Regions from separate parts of the Homo sapiens genome. Here regions 2 and 3 are each linked to region 1. The links are contacts of gene promoters, found by promoter capture Hi-C in blood cells and fetal thymus (Javierre and others, 2016). All regions are on one chromosome and are shown on one strand. The core of a region is centred on a gene start or on the middle of the fragment in contact, and the rest is flanking DNA. Distances in the headings are between cores, read along the strand shown.

Evidence for each region. Contacts are between HindIII fragments. The CHiCAGO score rates a contact against its expected background, and 5 or more counts as called.
Region 2: a contact is called between a fragment that was not itself captured here and the fragment with the promoter of NAV2-AS5 in region 1, in 1 of 17 cell types (endothelial precursors). The highest score is 5.6, in endothelial precursors.
Region 3: a contact is called between a fragment that was not itself captured here and the fragment with the promoter of NAV2-AS5 in region 1, in 1 of 17 cell types (endothelial precursors). The highest score is 5.5, in endothelial precursors.

Annotation. Positions count from the first base shown.
Region 1 is chr11:19,505,894-19,508,593 of GRCh38, reverse strand. NAV2-AS5 (NAV2 antisense RNA 5) reads left to right here and starts at 1,365. Exons shown (of 3, transcript NR_049725.1): 1 at 1,365-2,700. It also overlaps a transcript of NAV2 not described here. The HindIII fragment of the contact is 5,962 bases long and covers 858-2,700 here.
Region 2 is chr11:19,335,136-19,337,839 of GRCh38, reverse strand. No RefSeq gene overlaps it. Among named protein-coding and RNA genes, the nearest start is that of E2F8, 96 kb to the right of the region's middle. The HindIII fragment of the contact is 565 bases long and covers 1,160-1,724 here.
Region 3 is chr11:19,316,320-19,319,223 of GRCh38, reverse strand. No RefSeq gene overlaps it. Among named protein-coding and RNA genes, the nearest start is that of E2F8, 77 kb to the right of the region's middle. The HindIII fragment of the contact is 2,836 bases long and covers 1-2,759 here.

The DNA.
Region 1 (2,700 bases), core at 116-2,615:
TGAAGAGGTAACATTTACATGCAGGTATGAAAGGTGATTAGGAACTCGCCCAACAGTAAATGGGACTGAGAATGAGAACTGCGAAGAGAAGCCCAGGAGGAAGGAGTAGAAACATATGCAAAGGCCCTGAGGAGAGAAGGTACCTGCCACACTTAAATAACCAAATAGGATTAGCAGGAAGTCCAAGGGGCTGGTTTTGTGCTTGTATGCTTATTTGTTTTTCTTTAGTTTGGAAGAGGACAAAGGTCAGCATCCATAGAGCCCTGGGGAGGAAGGGCCATTAGAGTGGATAGTCAATGAGTCAGCCTTGACTCATCCTGACCCTGATTCTGACCCATGGATCAGGTCAGGGTAGGAGTTGCTGCAACTCCAGAGGAATCAGTAGGACAGCCTCAGGAAGAGAAGGCTGAACCCCTGAGACAGAGCAAGGCTGGTCCACAGAGCAGCCCCCATCAGCATGTGCTTATTAAAACAATCTCCCTCCTTCATCCCACCCCACCACTGCCCTTGCTATAAAAGGAAACATACTTTCCATTTCATCAAGGACCAACCTTTCAGAGCCAACTGAAATCCAGAAATGCATGTCTCTTAGGCTTCACGTATTTATTAATCCTCATCCCAGGGGCACTGTGTATAAGGGTTAAAAGCCTGGGCTCTGGAGTTAGACTGCCTGAATTTGAATCCTGACATTGTCATTTACTAGCTGTGTGACCTCAGGCAAATCTCTGAACCTCCGTGTCCTGATCTATAACTTGAGGATAACAATGGACTCACTGATAGGGTTGTTATAAAGATTAAATGAGATAATGTACACAACATAGGGACATATAGGTGGAAGCCTTCAATAAATGGAAGCTTTATGATGATTATAATGATGATGATTTCATTAATATCATCGGCATCATAGAAACCATGTAGTATCTGTCTATAATGCTCCAGAAACTGAGCTAAGCATTTCACATCCTTTATTTTCAATGTTCCTCCAACTTTGGTTTAATGATCCCCATTTTCTAAATAAGGAGACAGGCTCAGAGAAATTAAGTGATGCAGCTATTTAGTGACACAGTGCAGATTCAAACCCAGGCTCCAAAAGTAGTCTACCCTCCACATTTCTATACCAAATTAGCCACTTCTCATCAAAATCCTGTAAAATCCTGTTAATTACAACAAATGAGGATGAAGTCAGTTTATACTACCTGTTCATTAATTGGCAGATTTTTAACATCATTCCTTGTCCCAGGAGGACTCTCCAGGGGTCTATTATTACCATACAATTCTTTGGGGGAAATGAAACAACAGCTGGCCCTGCCAGTCACCATGGCAACACTCCTGTAACTACTAGAACCATGTCAACAGCAACTTTATACATACATACAGATTCCAAATTTGCACTTAACTGCTATATTATGTATGTACTTGTTCATGACACCACTTGGAATTCAGGTAGAGGTATTTTCAATCAGCTCCAACATCCCTTTCCTTCCTTGGATGTTTCCAAGACACCATCAAGCCAGGCACATTTAGGCAGAGAGGTTGCTGGGGAGAATAGAACATTGCCAAGCTCTGGCGCCAAATACTGCACTCTGGCAACGTGTAAGTGTAAGGCAGGCATTGTGGGTGTGTGACCTCTGCAATCACACAGGGCCTCATGCTCAGGAGGGCCCTGTGCTTGATTCAATACTCTGCTGGCCCCATCTTGAAATTCTTAATGATTTTTGAACAAGGGGCTCCACATGTCCATTTATCAGTGAGCCCCTCAAATTATATAGCCAGTTTTGTGTGAGGACAAAGCAATGGACAGATACTATGAAGCTCCTTTCTGGGTGGCATTTTCTCTTTCTTTTCTCCTTCCTTTCAGAGCTACCAAGTCACCCCACACTCTAGCTCAAGAGCTCTACCTGACCAAAACTCAATGGCCTTTCCTCAGGAAATCCAGCTATGCTAATGCCACCAGAACTGAGTCAGAACTCCTAACTCTACAAATATGGCTCCTCTGTATTGAGTGCCTGCTAGGTGCCAGGCACAACACTCAACTGGGACCAATATTATTTCTGATCTGGGAGATAGATAGGTATGATCAGCCCCATTTCACAGTTGAGGACATTGAGGCTCAGAGAGATTCAGTGACTTGTCCAAGGTCACACAGTGCATCAAACACAAATCTGATGAGCCTTCTCAAAGGCTCTTGATGCCACCTGCTTCCAGAACATTCTGCCACTCACTCTGCCTAGGCTGCTGCCCTGCCTGACTTGAGCTCAGGCAGTTCTGCCACTTGGGTCAGATCGGCTACAAGTCCTGGAGTATGGGCCCTTCCTAGCCCCATGCCTATAGTTTCTGGCTCCTCTTACCTCTTCCAGATTTGGATGAAAACACTCTCCAGCATGGGGTGGGAACTGGTCTCCTGAGAGGCTGCCATTAGGACTGGGTGATACAATCCTGAAGTGCAGAAGAGTTAACCCCCACTAGGAAAACTTTGACCAGTGGAAAATAGGAGTTGAGAGGGAGCAGGACACATACATTCCTTCTTCCTCTCTCCATGGACTGCTTCATGACAGTCTGCCTTGCCGCTCATCCAGCTGAATCCCACGTGTCATGCTGAAAGGTCTTGTGCAGTGACCTTCTGGGTGTCTCCATGGCTGTTTGTGACATAATAGCCATCAAGGAAACACACCACTTAGTGTGGCTTTGCATCCTTCTTTG
Region 2 (2,704 bases), core at 193-2,692, 170 kb after region 1:
ATTTTTGAGACTAGATTATAAAAGAGGGAGCAGGGGGACCCATTAGGTCACTGAAGTCACCTGGCAGGAGACAATGGTGGCTTACGTAGAGATGTGAAGATGGAAATAAAGGACAGATGCTGTCTCTCTCAGACTCTGCCCACTCTCTCATCCTCAGTTCTCACTGCTAATTGGGTAGCCTAGTTCAGGCATCAAAGGAGGGTCTGATTGCCCAGGTCATTTCAACATACCAAGCCAACCTATGGGTCATCTCCTCTCTCTTCGTCAAGTGCTCACCTCTAGGGCAGGTAGGAGAGACCGGGTGCATTTAATCAAATCAGGGCCACTAATGCAGTGGGGGCTAAGGCAGGCCAGCCTTAGGTGTGTACTAAGGTGGAAGGCGCAGAAGGTGCTGTGTGCCACATGCAACAACAGGCAGGCCCAATGGTGATCTTAGCCAGCACCTCCATACCACTTATTGTCCCAGGCACTGTTCTACATTATTTAGATATAATAATTCATTTAATTCTCACAGTTATCTCATAAGACAGATACTATTATTATCCATATTTTTCAGAAAAGGCAATAAGCACAGAGAAATTAAGTGACTTTTCCAAGGTCATACAGCTAGTTAGGGGTGAAGTTGGGATTCAAATTCAAGCAGTCTGACTCTTGAGGCCTTGATCTTAACCACTGTTGAAATCTTCTTTAAAGTCTAGCTCAAATATTAATGAGAAGGTATCCTGAACATGGATGTTGAAAAAAAATAGGAATAAATATTGCCACAGCTGCTGCTGCTGTTTTATCTAGTGAAACCACGAAGAGACTTTCTACACTGCCTGGTTTAAGCTCCAGCTCTTCCATTTACTATTTCTAGGATCTGGGTAAAGAACTATAACTTCTTTGAGCCTCAAGTTTATTACCTAAAAGTTTATTTTCTAAAGATAGAGATACCATCTGTCTTTGCTGTTGTCTAGGGATTGTTTGTAAGACAACAATTACAATGCCAGGGGAAAGGTGCTCTGATAAATTAAGAGTGTGTTCTACAAGTAAAAGCTTGTTACTCCATCTGAATAGTGTTTGTTTCTTGGGTGTGTGACTCTTCATTGACATTTTGTTTCTATGAATTCTTCAAAGGGAAGGCTTTTTGCTTTGATGATGAGACCCACCCACCCAAGCTTCCTGTGTGTGGATCACGACCTTCCCTGGGAAGACAGGTGTGGGGACCCTGGCTTGGCTCCTTTGCATAGCACATTGGGAATATTTGCATTTCCAGTGTCTTGTTTCTCCATTGAATCGGGGACCCATTCTATTTTTTTTTTTCTTCCTGTGGCATCAGATGAAAGTGGCCTGGAAGTCAATGCAACTTCCTTTCATCTCACAGTGTGTCCAGTGGCCTCCTAACTACTCAAAGCCCAGCAGGCTAAGCTGAGCAAGGACACACAGAAGAAAACTCCCACTTAGATTCTTTTGGAGGGATTCCTGGCTACTTCCTGACTGGCACTCCCTGACTGCAGCCACACACACGTGCACGCGCACGCACACAGATGCACACACACACACACACACACACACACACACACAGCAGTGCACCCACAGAGCCCCAGGGAGCACTCTTCAAGACATCTTTGAAGTCTGATGATGCCATTGTCTTCTCCCATGGGGTTGGCTAACAGAAGCCTACATCGTCTAAATCCTCAGAGAAAATACAAAAAACTCTTTTTTTCTGGGTCAGTAGGTAAGCTTTGTATAAAAAACAAAAACAAAAACAAACCAAAGATGTATTCTTCGTGGAGAAAAATGGCAGTATGAATGCTTTTACCACGAATCTCATTGCCTTCCTTTATCTGCAGTAATCTCCCATGGGGATGGGATGCTTGGCTCTAAGCGATGTGTAAGTGGGTACAGGTGATAGTATGTCGAATGCTAGGGAATCTTTGAAGCCAGAGATTCTGGCTCCACAAGACCTTGTTTCTGTTTAGCTTTGGTTCTGAGAACAGTTTTTAAATATTTAGGGTCCAATTCCAGCAGGCTTACTAAGCATTTTGGGGGCAGAGGGTGTGATAAGTTTACAATTTGTAAATATAGGAACCATTATTTTTGCTATCAGACTGAAAAAAAAAACTTTTTAAAGTAGCATTAAACATTATTGGTGAGGGCAAAAGGAAACAAATTCAACAAATATTTATTAAGAACCTACTCTGTGCTAGGCATTGCTCTAGGCTAGATTCACTATGGTACAGGAAATAAATGAACAAAATCCTTGCTTCATGGAATGAGCATTCTAGTATAATTCATTGTGCTAGAAATGTGTATACCTACTAGAAAGTAGGATGCATGGAACACCTTGAAAATGTGTATGTGTGCCCTTTGACCTGAAAAGTTGTGCACCCATATATGTACAAGAATATAAAGTTTGTTTGGGAGAATAAAAATTTAGAAAAGAAAAACCTAAATATATAACATGAAGGTACCATTTACATTCATTATGGTCTGCTTTTATAACTGAATACCATGCTACTACTAAAATAATATGGAAGAACATTTATTGATTTGGAAAATGCTAATGATACATTGCTATACAGAAAAGTAGGTTACAAAATGGTAGGTAGAATATGACTCCACTTGCATAAAAATGTTTATGAATGGAAAAAATTTCCAAAAGGTTATTGTTTAATTTAGCAATATTTACTTAGCTTACTTACTGTGTGCCTGGGCCCTGGGG
Region 3 (2,904 bases), core at 92-2,591, 190 kb after region 1:
AGGTGCCACACACTTTTAAACAACCAGATCTTACAAGAGTTCACTATCGCAAAGACAAGCACCAAGGGGGAATGGTGCTAAACCATTCATAAGAAATCCATCCCCACGATCCAATCACCTCCCATTCACCTCCCACCAGGCTCCACCTCCAGTACTCGGGATTACATTTCAACATGAGATACGGATGGAGACAAATATTCAAACTACATCACCCATATATACCCTTAGTGATCAACACTGAGTAACCGTCTGGCTTTGGTGATTGATAGGCTTGGGGAGGGAGCAGGATGATTGCAGGAAGATGCACAACCTTCCGGCCTGGACAACAAGGTGTGCCCCCAACAGACTATGAGCATTTGGAGAGCAGAGAGTGGGTCTTATGCCCCTCTATTTTTAGCCCCTAGCACTGTGCCAGCACACGCTGCCTGCTTGGTGAGTGACAATGGAAGAAACGATGTGCACTTCCAAACCAACAGTCTTTTGTTCCAAATTTGATGCTGTTTGGCAAGTCCTTCTCACCCCCATCATTACTCATTCCCATGCCCTGGTTTGACCATCTTTGGCACAGACTTCAAGGTTGGCTCAAATATCGCCTTAAAGGAAAACTTCTCTGCCCTTTCCTGTGTACCTTCAGACCTCATCATAACACCTGTTGTACTCTGTACATTTGTGGTATAGGCTCCAAACAAATGTGAAAATGAATAAATGCACAAATAAATAAACCCCCCACAAAACTGTGATCCCAAGGCAGAGATCACATGCCATTCAATTTCGCATCACTGATGAGAATGCTTCAGCCTGGCACCTGGCACAGAATGGCCAATTATCGTATAACTGAATTGAACAATACACAGAGTATGATTATCCCCAAATTAGGGCATTTCCATATTATTGTCAAACACTAGGAAATAAAAAATACTTAATGATGGAGTCTCAGGCACCATATTCCCTTAGATTCAGGCAGAAGAATGACAGGAAATTCATTACTGGGCACCCTAAGACATGCCAGGCACTGTAACAGGCACTCTCATCATCATAAAAGAGAAGATAATATTTATCAAGTACTTACCTACTGCCAAACAATGTTTTAAGTATTTCATATATGAAAACATATTTGACAGCACTGTCAGATAGACGTTAACATTGTCCTTACTTTTTATAAGAGTAAGTCAAACTAAAAGGTGATGTAATTGTTCAAAACTGCAGAGCCAGTAAGTGGCAGAGCTAGGATGTGAACCCAGGCAGTTTGGTTCTAGAATATGGCTCCAAATAGCTGCAGTATTCCAGCTCCTTCATATAGTGTCCACACCAACCCCAAAAGGTACTATTCCCCCATCGTGTAGATCAGAGAACTGAGGCTCACAGAGTATGTAATTTCCTCTCATTCAGCCAACATCTATAGGTTAGACACTGGAACATGGCAGCGCTGGCAGGGAAGCCAGGTCTGCCAGTTCTCAATCAATGCCATCTCTGCCACACACACACACTGCTCCCCTTCCTCGCCTCCCTGAAGTGGGGGTGCAGAGGGCAGCCTCTTGGCTAAGCATCACACCACAATCCCCAGATGCCTCCATGATATAGTACTAGGAAACCCTGGGAAGCCAATAACATGCTTCACCCTTGGGTGTCCTGAGCAGATTGGGGGCCCGGCCATGTGGACATTTGAGAAGCACCTATGATCTGAAGGCTTGGCGTTAGAATGGCTTCCATTTACTAGGGACTGGCTATGGGCCTGAGATATTATTTATATTCAGCATCTCTTAATTCTCTCCACAATACCATGGGACAGCTATTACCACCATTTTACAGATTAAACTGAGTCTACAGAAGATGAAGTTCCTGCCCCAGGTCTCTCAGCAGTGAGTGGCAGAACTGGATTTTGATCCCAAGTGTGTCTGACACCAAAATCCATGATCATGACAGAGAGGTTTAGCCTCAAATTCACCTTCACCTTCCCCGCAGGCCTGCTTTACAACTGTCAGGCTTGTAAGAGAGTTGGTAGGAAGAACTAGAAGAGGAGGGTGGATTTGGCCCAGAGAAGAGTGAGAAGAATGTCTCCAAAAAGGAGCAGGAAATGGTGAGGAGGGTTGCAGGGCACAGAAGTGGTAGGGATGTGGTGTAAATGTAGGGTCTTCCCAGTGCCCATCTCCCAGGGGAGATGGGCCAGAGAGAGGAGACCAAAGAGAAGCACGTTTTAGAATGTTGAATGCACAGCTAAGGAGTCTGGTCCTGGTCCCGGGTGCAGGTGAGGAGTCGGTGCCACTGGCCACAGGTCCTACCTCTGGACTCTACAGAGAAGGCCTCCTAGGTCTCAGGCTCAAGGTCAGAAATCACTAGATGTCCAGGCTTCTAGCCTCATCCACTGTATATGCCACATAACAGGGTCCGTTCAAAGGCTCCATGCTGGGGATCACAGTAGAGGCACAGCCAGTGGCTGCTGGTGGCCACAGAGGGCCAGCCCTGGCTGGGACTTTGGCTTCCCACTCTCCTCAGATCACACACAGCCACAGCCCAGCAGCACGGCCTTAAGCCAAGTCTGATTTTGCCTCTGGGACTGAGAAAAAATGAGCTCTGCTACTCACAAAGGAAGGCCGCTTGCCAACAAGTTGCTCTTTCACACTCTTTTTGGAGCAGACACAACACCGGGTTCGACCAGCTGAAATCTTTCCCTGAACAGTTTTCTCCCAGGCATCTCCTCCCCAGTCTTTACCTGGCGTAAAGCCTGTTTAAGATCAGCACACGGTGATTTATGGAAAGCTTTGAAATGCCCAGCGTTGTGCTGCTTGCAGTGGGGCAATGAGAGTTTAAGGCATAATTCCTGACCTCAAGGAGTTTGCAAAATCTCTGCAGGAACTAAACCCACCACAATAACACCAACAGTAAAGTGTTACATTCAGTTGGTGC